2 separate regions of the Homo sapiens genome follow, and region 1 is linked to region 2. The links are contacts of gene promoters, found by promoter capture Hi-C in blood cells and fetal thymus (Javierre and others, 2016). All regions are on one chromosome and are shown on one strand. The core of a region is centred on a gene start or on the middle of the fragment in contact, and the rest is flanking DNA. Distances in the headings are between cores, read along the strand shown.

Evidence for each region. The method cuts DNA at HindIII sites, captures the fragments that hold promoters and counts their contacts. A CHiCAGO score of 5 or more calls a contact.
Region 1: a contact is called between the fragment with the promoter of CCNI here and the fragment with the promoter of NAAA in region 2, in 1 of 17 cell types (fetal thymus). The highest score is 6.0, in fetal thymus.

The regions. Positions count from the first base shown.
Region 1 is chr4:77,074,739-77,079,761 of GRCh38, reverse strand. It overlaps CCNI (cyclin I), which reads left to right and starts at 3,773. Exons shown (of 7, transcript NM_006835.3): 1 at 3,773-4,290. RefSeq lists enhancers at 2,607-3,577, 3,476-3,705 and silencers at 3,886-4,235, 4,296-4,445. The HindIII fragment of the contact is 6,616 bases long and covers 954-5,023 here.
Region 2 is chr4:75,937,822-75,943,676 of GRCh38, reverse strand. It overlaps NAAA (N-acylethanolamine acid amidase), which reads left to right and starts at 2,664. Exons shown (of 11, transcript NM_014435.4): 1 at 2,664-2,933; 2 at 3,512-3,676. The coding sequence starts at 2,728. RefSeq lists silencers at 2,442-2,911, 3,312-3,381. The HindIII fragment of the contact is 5,903 bases long and covers 1-3,258 here.

The sequences.
Region 1 (5,023 bases), core at 2,524-5,023, 1.1 Mb before region 2:
CACGGTGGCACACCTGTAATCTCAGCTACTCGGGAGGCTGAGGCAGAAGAATTGCTTAAACCCGGGATATGGAGGTTGCAGTGAACTGAGATTGCACCATTGCACTCCAGCCTGGGTGACAAGAGAGAGACTCTGTTTCAAAAAAAAAAAAAAGTGAATTAAAGTATGGTCTTACAAATGGATACTGAAGAACAAGAATGTCCATATTGGCTGTGCACAGTGGCTCATGCATGTCATCCCAGCACTTTGGGAGGCTGACGTAGCTGGATTGCTTGAGCTCTGGCATTCGAGATCAGCCTGGGCAACATGACAAAACCCCGTCTGTACAAAAAATACAAAAGTTAGCTGGGCATGGTGGTGCACACCTGTATTCCCAGCTAGTTAGAAGTCTGAGGTGGAAGGATCGCTTGAGCCTAGGAAGTTGAGGCTGCAGTGAGCTGAGATCGCACCACTGCAACCTGGGTGACAGGGTGAGACCTTGTCTCAAAGGAAAAAAAAAAAAGAAAGAAAATATCCATACTTTTTGTTCAGACAACTGCAACTAGTTACTTACCCACCTATTAATTACTTGTAATTATATTTATAGTAGATTAAATTGTCACTGGCAATCTCATAGGCAGTAAGATAGTTTTAATAAGGATAAGTATATAATTAAATGGGAGCTCTTAAAGACTCCTGGTAACATTTTAATTGGTTTAATCTTCTGCCTTGCAACTGGCAACTGGTATTCAGTAAAAGCCATAAAAACATAATATTGTTGGACCTAGGAATAGCCCCAAAGAGGTTATGAAGATGTTAATTGAATTATTTTTGTTTTTCATTTTTTGGGTAGCAGCTTTATTATAATTCAAACACCATAGAAGTAATACATTTAAAGTGTACAATTCAATGGTTTTTAGTACAGGTTGCATATCCCTGATACAAAAATCTGAAATGCTCCAAAATCCAAAGCTTTTTGAGTGCCAACATGACACTCAGAGGAAATGCTCATTTTGGATTTTCAGACTAGGTTGCTCAACCAGTAAGTATATAATTTAATGCAAACATTTCCAAAACTGAAAAAAAAGTTTAAAATTCAAAATACTTCTGGTCTCAAATATTTTGGATAATACTCAACCTAAATATTCACAGTTGCGCAACCATCAACACAATCAATCTCAGAACATTTTTCTCACCTCAAAAAGAAACCTTCAAAAAATCAGTTGGGCATGGAGGCATGCGCCTGTGGTTCCAGCTACACAGGAGGCTGAGGCAGGAGGATTGCTTGATCCTGGAGGTCAAGGCTACAGTGAGTCATGTTCACACCATTGCACTCCAGCCTGCAGCCTGGGGGACAGAGCAAGGCCCTGTTTCCAAAAAAAAAAAAAAGAAAAAAAGAAAAGAAAAAAAGAAAGAAACCCCCATATCATTTAACTATCATCCCCTAATCCCATGCCTGCCCCTAGCCCTAAGCAACCACTTCCTTACTTTCTGTCTCTATATATTTGCCTATTCTGGACATTCACGTAAGTGGAATCATATAATATGTGGTCTTTTGTGACTGGCTTCTTTCATTTAGCATACTGCTTTCAAAGGTTATGCATGTTATAGCATGTATTAGTATTTTCTTTTTATGGCCCAATAAGATTCCATTGTATAGGTCGGTGTGACGGCTCATGCCTGTAATCCCATCACTTTCAGGCTAAGGAGGGAGAATTGCTAGAGGCCAGGAGTTTGAGACCAGCCTGGACAACATAGGAAGTCTCATGGCACCCCCATCTGCGCCACGGAGCCAGACCCCATCTCTTAAAAATAAAAATTTGATTGTACATAGATGTATCACATTTGATTTATACAGGCGCCAGCTGATGAACATTTAGGTTGTTTCATCTTTGGCTATTATGAATAATGCTAACGTTTGTAAAAAAGTTTTTGCATGGACAAATATTTTCCTTTCTCTTGGGTATATATTTAGGAGTGGAATTTGCATTATTCTTATTGGAGTGAAAATCAGAAGCAATTTCATGGTCTAACAATGGAATTATGTTACACTCTCAATAGTATTATGCAGAAATGCTACAGTCTCAAGAGTAACATGCAGAAAAATGGTGGCTTTTTTGAATGAAGACCATATAATAATAGGCTACATGAAGTGAAAAAAAGAAAAAAAAAGGATACAACCCACTTGAAATCCTCCTAGGGCTTCCCATTCCTTCTTCTGTTCTATGGCATCTGTCCTCTGCTTCCACATCCTGCCTCAGTTGTCTGAGGGCCAGCCACACTAGCTTTCAGAGATTTTTAGAACGTCTCAGCTTCGGAGCCTTTTCACATAACTTCCTCTGCTTGTATCATTCTTTGCCCAGTGGTTTCAAGTCTCATCTTAAATGTCACTTCTTCAGAAAAACCTTCTCTGATATCCCAAACCAGGCGGAAAGGCAAGCGTTTCCACAGCAGCCGGCGATTTTCCATCTTAACGGTTTTAATACCAGAATTGTTTACTTGGTCAAATATTGAGAGCCTTTTATACACAGGGATAGAGGGTGAAACATGCAAGATCCCTGCCGCCTGCGACCTTATATTCTAGGGAGGGGATACATGCACAAGTAAACAAGTAAATGTACTTGGTAATTTTACATAGTGATAATTAGCTCAATGGTTATCCTCTGTTTGGACTGTAAACTCCATGAAGGCAGGAGCTATGTCTGTCTTGGCTACTTCCAGTTTGCTGAGTCTGGCCACTAAATAAACTCAACACATATTTTTTCACTGACAGTTAAAATAACTATATAAAAAACAAATGGAAAAAACAAACGAGACTTCTATAAATGGTTGAGATCTAGCTCTTCCTCTTTCAAAACTCTGTAATACTACATATTTTTAAATAATTAAAACAATCAAAATAGCAAAAAGTTACCGTTTGTACTAACAGAACCCCAAATAAAACCCATTTATGTCACCACACATTCTTTAAGCACCTGGTAATAAAACCTATTCGGAAATACTCAGACGTGTTGGTTGAGTGGATAAAATCCCCTTGCCACATTGCCAAGCAGGTTCCTCGCCGTCAGCAGTATAATTTACAGTGTTTCACTGAGGCCTTAAGCACCCATGATTTGATTCTCCCTAATTTTCCGATTCCTAAAACCCTTTAGAATCTCCCTCCACCCACACAATGTGGCAGTGAGAAAAACCGCAATTCTATTTACATGTCAACGGTAAGAACACGTAATACTTTGCTAGGTCAACAAATCTGCAAGATCTCCACCCAAGAGATCAGTAGCCCCTTCCCAGTGAATCCTTCTAAGAGCCTGGGGACGAGTAGGGCTAGATAAAACCAAGCTGCTGTAAAGCTGGACCACAGGAGCGGATCGTGAAATCCCCTCCCCCAAGCGCAGCGCTCGGCCGCTTCTTTCTTCCCCAGGCGCATGCGCAGCGCACTCTCCGGCCACCGCACGCCCCCTCAGTGGGGGCCCAGAGACGCTGACGTCACCGTGCGGTCTGCAAGCAACCCTTCCGCTCCTTCAAGGAAAATGAGTCCACGGACCTTCGGCTTTTCTTAGCCACGAGAAAACGTCCTCCCTCCTTCCATCCTAGTGCCAACGACTTCCCCAGCCCGTCTCCTTTCGGCCGCACTTCTCTGTACTTTCGTTGGACCGGGAAGGCGGCGGGGAGGAACAGGAAGGGTGAAAGACCAAGTCCGCGTAGTTTACAAGGAGTGGGCGAGTCTAGGAATCGGTCCGCGAGGGCGGAGCCGAGGAAGCCGGCACTTCTTCCTCCCTTCCCCTCTCTTCCCCTCCCTCCCCAGCCTTCCCCGCGAGCGGACGCGGCAGCGCCTCTGTCTCGCTTTTTCTTATTTTTCCCCCCTTTCCCCTTTCTTTTTTTTTTTTTCTTTTCTTTTCTCCCCTCCCCCCCTTTCACCATTTCCCCTCGGAGGCGCTTTCCCCGGGCAGGGGCAGAGCCGGTCTCACCCCCCGCCTCTCCCCGGCCCCCGCCGCCCTATGGCGAGAGGGAGCCCCCTCCCAACCCGGGCTCGAGCGGCGGCGGCCTCAGGCCGGGGGTCATCATGGAACTAATTCGCTGACCGACCCAGCGGCCGCAGCCGTGCGTCCCGCTCGAGCGCCAGCGCCCGCGCCCGCGCCCCCCGATCCGCTTCCCCTTTCTCCCTCCTCAGTTGGCCGAGTCGTCCCGCGCGCACCGCCTCCGCGCGCCTATGAGAATGAGGTGGTAACGGGCCCCCGGATGACCCCGCGTCACCACTGTGAGGCCTACAGCTCTGCCGGGGAGGAGGAGGAGGAGGAAGAGGAGGAGAAGGTGAGGGGCGGGGGCGGGGGCGGGGGCTCGACGCGTCTCCGCGGCCGGCGTCGACGCGCTGGGGCCCCGCTGCTCCCCCCGCGCCGCCCCCGTGGCAGCGCCCTTGGCCGCGCGCTGCTCGCCGGAGACCCACCCTCCCGCATCCCCCAGCCCGGGGAACCTCGGGGCCGCCCTCTTCGTCCTCTCCGGCCCAGACAGACCCGTCACCTGCCCACTTGAAAACGGCACTACTGTGTTCCTTTTCGGGCCAGTTTTTCTGTCAGCGAGTAACTTTTTTTTGTGGCAGCGGCAAATTAGCTACTCTATAGTGCGTGTTGGAGGCTCTACGAGCCCGTGTTAATACACAAAGAAGGGGACACACCCCCACCCTCAGGTTGAACGATTCTCCGGGGACACCAGGAGGATTACTAACTTTGCACGGCAGACTGAATGCCAAATGAATGGGGTGAACCTCCGGTGCTGTGAAATTCGGGGGAGGGCAACGTTACCCAGGGCTTGGGGCGGGTGGGTGGGGGGAATCCGGGGGAGGTGAGATTTGAGTTGTGCTCTAAAGGCTAGATTAAATAACTGGAATTTGAAAGGAGGACAGAGGAGCCTCCGCTGGAGCTAGGGGGCTCCGTTACAGATCCTTTTGGCAGAAGTTGACAATTGGGTATCAAAACAGTGGAAGGTGTTTCGGGAGGTAGGATGGATTCAGACTCTGAAGGGGTTTGAACTAAAATGTTTATGTTTT
Region 2 (5,855 bases), core at 1,415-3,914:
TCTACTAATCATCAGTCTGTTAGGAACTTTAGGCTCTCACTAACATTCTGCTCAAAATTATTACAATTTCTCCCTACTACCAGTTCCAAAGCAATACATTTTTAGGCATGTGTTATGGTAGCACTACAGTTACGTTCCCAAACAAATCTATATTAATGATCTGTTTGTCACATACCAAATTACCTCAAAACTTAGTGGCATAAAGTGATAAACATTATTTCACAGTTTCTTTTTTTTGCGGGGGGGGACAGTCTCACTGTCACCCAGGCTGGAGTACAGTGGTGCGATCTGGGCTCACTGCAACCTCCATCTCCTGGGTTCAAGCAATTCTCCTGCCTCAGCCTCCCGAGTAGCTAGGATTACAGGCACCCGCCACCACGCCCAGCTAATTTTTATATTTTTAGTAGAGACGGAGTTTCACCATGTTGGTCAGGCTGGTCTCAAACTCCTGACCTCCAGTGATCTGCCCGCCTCGGCCTCCCAAAGTGCTGGGATTACAGATGTGAGACACCATGCCCGGCCTGCTTCACAGTTTCTATGGGTTAGGAATTTGGGGGTGGCTTAGCTGAGGCAGGAAGGTCCACTTCCACCATGGCTCACTCAGATGACTTGACAAGAAGCCTCAGTTCCTCTCTGGCTCTTGGTAGAAGCTCAGTTCCTCAACAAAGGGACTTTCTTTTTTCTTTTTTTTCAATTTTATTTACTTCTTTTTTGGAGACAGGGTCTCACTTTGTCATTTAGGCTGGAGTACAGTGGCGTGATCATAGTTCACTGCAGCCTCAAATTCCTGGGCTCAAGTAATCCTCCTACCTCAGCCTACCAAGTAGCTGGGACTAAAGATACATGCCCCCATGCCCGGCTAATTTATTTTTATTTGTTTGTAGAGATGGGGTCTCACTGTTGCCCAGGCTGGTCTCCAATTCCTGGGCTCAAGCAGTCCTCCTGCCTGACTCTCCAAGTGCTGAGATTTGTGTCCAGCCACAAAGGGACATTTTCATAGGGCTTCCTCAGGACATGACAATGGGCTTCCTATAGTGAGCAATTCAAGAGAGCAAGGAGAAACCCACAGTGTCTTTTGTGACCTAGTCTTGGAAGTCAACCACCAGCAATTCTGATTCTATTCATTAAACCAAGTGACCTCAGATGATCAGCCAGCCAACGTGCTGGGATGACAGGCGTGAACCACCATGTCTGGCAAGAAATTTTGTAATTCCTTTAAGTGTTATCCTTAAAAACAAGTGATTGATTATAAAAGTTGTATTTCTTCATCCTAAAATTGGTAAAAAATAAAAAAAAAATGTGTTTAGTTTCTACTATGCATTTAGTTTTTTTTTTTTTTTTTTTTTTTTTTTTTTTTTTTTTTTTTTTTTTTGAGACAAAGTTTTGCTCTTGTCACTCAGGCTAGAGTGCATTGGCACAATCTCGGCTCACTGCAACCTCTGCCTCCCAGGTTCAAGAGGTTCTCCTGTTCAGCCTCCCAAGTAGCTGGGATTACACCACCACGCCCGGCTAATTTTTGTATTTTTAGTAGAGACAGGGTTTCACCATGTTGGCCAGGCTGGTCTCAAACTTCTGACCTCAGGTGATCCACCCGCCTCAGCCCCCCAAACTGCTGGGATTACAAGCCTAAGCCACCATGCCCGGCCCTTTCATTTAGTTTCTACTATTCATGTACACATGTACCCTGTTTTACCCACAGACAACTGTGCTAACCGTTAAGAATGTCCCAGCCTTACTAAGATTTTCCTAAGTTTGTCTCCCAGACATTGGGAACTCAAAGGTGAAGAAACTTAGGTGTGAAGGTGGATTGTGGATTCAGACCTCCTTACTTGGAGGCCAGTGCAGAGACACACCAGCAGAGTAACCTCGGGTACATGGCTTCACCTCTCCAAGCCTCACACTCCTCATCAGTAAAGCGAGGATTAGTGGAACCTACCTGTTGGCTTGTTTTGATGATTAAATGAGATAATGTCCGCGAAAAATATTTAGCAGATAAATGTTCACTAAATTTTGAGCTTTAAAAAAATGTTTTACCAGCCAGGCGCGGTGGCTCACGCCTGTAATCCCAGCACTTTGGGAGGCTGAGGCCGGTGGATCACCTTAGGTCAGGAATTCGAGACTAGTCTGGCCAACATGGTGAAACCCTGTCCCTACCAAAAATACAAAAATTAGCCAGGTATGGTGGTGGACGCCTGTAATCCCAGCTACTTGAGAGGCTGAGGCAGGAGAATCGCTTGAACCCAGGAGGCGGAGTTGGCAGTGAGCGGATATCTCGCCGCCGCACTCCAGCCTGGGCAATAGAGTGAGACTACATCTCAAACAAACAAACAAACAAGCAAACAAAGTTTAACTGAAAAGTCTTTCCTGACACCTTTTCGCTACTGAAAATCTTACAGCCCCTCCCGGCCGCAGCCTACACTCCTTCGGCCCAAGCAGGTGCGCTGGAACCGGCAGTTGGTGAGAAGCCGGCTGCCGGCAGCCCCAACCCTTAGCGGCCCCGCGGTCAGGGACCTCCAGGCCCGATGGAGAGTCGGGGCGGGCTAGTGGATGCGCGGCGGGGACGGGAGGTGTCGCCGCTCCGGCTTGCCGGTGACAGGGGCGGGCGGGTCGTGCGCGGGCCCCACCTCCAGCGATCGCAGCCCAGCCCCAGCTCCTCCTCCTCCACGGCTTACCCGGGCTCCGACAGCGGCTGCAGGTCTCCAAGTTGCGGCCGCTGGAGCCCGAGCCATGCGGACCGCGGACCGGGAGGCGCGCCCGGGGCTTCCGTCCCTGCTGCTGCTGCTGCTGGCCGGGGCCGGGCTGTCAGCCGCCTCGCCCCCAGCAGCGCCGCGCTTCAACGTGAGCCTGGACTCGGTCCCCGAGCTGCGCTGGCTGCCCGTGCTGCGGCACTACGACTTGGACTTGGTGCGCGCCGCGATGGCGCAAGTCATCGGGTGAGCTGGGGCCCTGGACGGGGTCTGCGGGGACACCGGCCCTGCGGGTCGGAGTCAAACGCGCGCTGCTCAGAGTGCTTTAAACGGGGACGCTTTACTCCCCGCCACCCTTGGAGAACTGGTTTTGGCTGCCGCCCTGAGCAGCGTCCGGGTTGGGGAGAATCCAGCGCGGCAGGTTCGGCTTTCAAGTTCGGTGTCACCCGTGGCACGCCAGTCCTTGAGCCATTCCGGGTCAGCGTGGCGCGCGAGTTGTCGCCCGGGCTGCATAGCTACCAAGGAGGGGCAACCCGCGCCTTCCTTGCGGGCCTCGCGGGCCTTCCAAGCTTGCCCCTTTGGGACCAGCCTCACTCGCCCTCCCCATTCGGAGTTTTCTTACCCGCCGCCTTCCCCCCGCCCCCTTCCCCCCACTCCCGGGAGGCTGCAGATTGAGTGACGCCGCGCCTGGGCGGTCCACTGACTGGGGAGCAGTGGCCCTGAGACCTCACGCCCTAAGGATGTAGCCCCGCTCGCAGTGCACACGCAGTCGCACGCCGCCGACCTCTGAGCGGGTCAGACGCCCTTGTGCTTTTTGTTTCTAGGGACAGAGTCCCCAAGTGGGTGCACGTGTTAATCGGAAAAGTGGTCCTGGAGCTGGAGCGCTTCCTGCCCCAGCCCTTCACCGGCGAGATCCGCGGCATGTGTGACTTCATGAACCTCAGCCTGGCGGACTGCCTTCTGGTCAACCTGGCCTACGAGTCCTCCGTGTGAGTGCCCCAAGCCCGCGCGGAGTAACGCGGGGCTTGCGGGGGCCCCCGACACAGACTAGCGGGAGGAGACATATTTTCCGTGTGATAAAAACAGGGCGGTGCCTGCTTGCCTAGAAACCTCCAGCGCTTCCTCTTTGCCTCTCTGGGTAAATCTGAGCTGCACATCGTAGGCTTCGAGAGGGAAAGCAGATTCTCCGATTCAACACTAAACTTTCCCTCTACGTGTAGCCCCGGGTTTTCTCTTCCCCAATCCAGGTAGCGTACTTTTAAAATTCTGCTCAAAGGCCGGGCGCGTTGGCTCACACCTGTAATCCCAGCACTTTGGGAGGCCAAGGTGGGCAGATCACGAGGTTAGGAGTTCGAGATCAGCCTGGCCAACATAGTGAAACCCCGTCTCTACGAAAAACACAAAAAATTAGCCAGGCGTGGTGGTGGGCGCCTGTAATCCCAGCTACTTAGGAGGTTGAGGCAGGAGAATCACTTGAACCCGGGAGGCGGAGGTTGCAGCGAGCCGCGATCGCGCCACTGCACACCAGCCCTGGCGACAGTGCGAGACTCTGTCTCAAAAAAAAAAAAAAAAAAATTCTGCTCAAAACGTACTTTTCCAGGAAGTTTTTGAAACTAAGCCTCCTCTCATCTGGACCCTTTAGTTAACTCAGTGGCCTTCCAGCTCTATACTGGCAGTGGCTCATCTCTGCCCTTATTTGTCGCCCTGCATTTATCCTTTCATGTGTGTCGTGGCTGAAGTGTCTGTGTCCACCAGGGCTGGGGCGACAGGGAACACTGCTCTAATAGGGCCAGCCAGTGTTTGGACCGGGAAGTGGGCATGATAAAATGTGCATCCAGGCTGGGCGCGGTGGCTCACGCCTGTAATCCCAGCACTTTGGGAGGCCGAGGCGGGTGAATCACCTGAGGTCAGGAGTTCAAGACCAGCCTGGCCAACATGGTGAAACCCCGTCTCTACTAATAATACAAAAAAATTACCAGGGCCTGGTGGCGGGCACCTGTGAATCCCAGCTACTTGGGAGGCCGAGGCAGGAGAATCACTTGAACCCAGGAGGCAGAGGTTGCAGTGAGCCAAGATGGCACCATTGCACTCTGCAGCCTGGGCGACAAAGCGAGATTCCATATCAAAGAAAAAAAGTGCACCCAGAAGTGAAAGCAACATGGAGTGTGTGGTTGATCCCAGGCAAAGTGCAGGGGACCACTAAAGGTTTATGGGCTCAGTAATAGGCCCTGGAATAAAGAGAGGTTTTGACTTGGTTTCTTCCTTCAATACTTATTGTTTTGCCAGCAGACTAGCTTCATCTCGTAACCTCTTGTACATACTTAGAGCTTCTTGCTGCCTAAAGATGATGGGGGTAGAAAAGATCTTGGAATAATGAAACTTTACTGGCCCAGGCATTTTCCCAGAACACCTAGGCAGAGTAAGCTAAAAAGCACTGGGACTGCCTTCCTCTTCAGGAAATGCTTTCAGGCACAGAAAAGACACAGGCCTGCTAAATAACATGCTTTTCAGTTGAACTAAGTTATTATAATTTTACCACCTCCCTCTCCTACCTCCAACTTTTTCCTATTTTTAACTTACAGCTTTCTCAATGAAAAATCACGAATCATTTTTACCCTCATCTGTTGGAGTCACCATATTCAAACACATTAAAGCAAAAGTTCTAGTAAAAACATTCTAACTTTTGGATTTGATACTAAGGTATTTATTGAATTGCCTAATAGCACCATTCAATTCACTAGCATTAACAAAGGAAATGCTTTCTTCTCATGTTGGAAGTAAGCCTTCTTGAATTAGAATAATACTAGCTACCCTTTATTGAGCCTACTGGGTGCCAGGCACTTCATGAACACAGTCCCGTGGGGAAGATGGTATCATCTGTTTTGTGATGTGGAAACCAAGCCTCAGTGGGGCCACCTTGCTGGAAGTCAGGTGGCTGGTGAGTGCTAAAAGCATGGGAATCTCCAGTTCGCTGCAGTGCCTTTCAAAGCAGAGCCTGTTTCCTCATTTGTCTCCCATGCTTGTGCACTGCTGCATCACACTACAACATTTGGGCCTGAGATGGAAGTATTGTTATCTTGCCAATTTTGAAAAATCGCCTCTGAGAGAGATCCCACAAACTTTGCTTTAGTACTTCCCATGTCTTACCAGTCCCCTCCCTGACCTGAA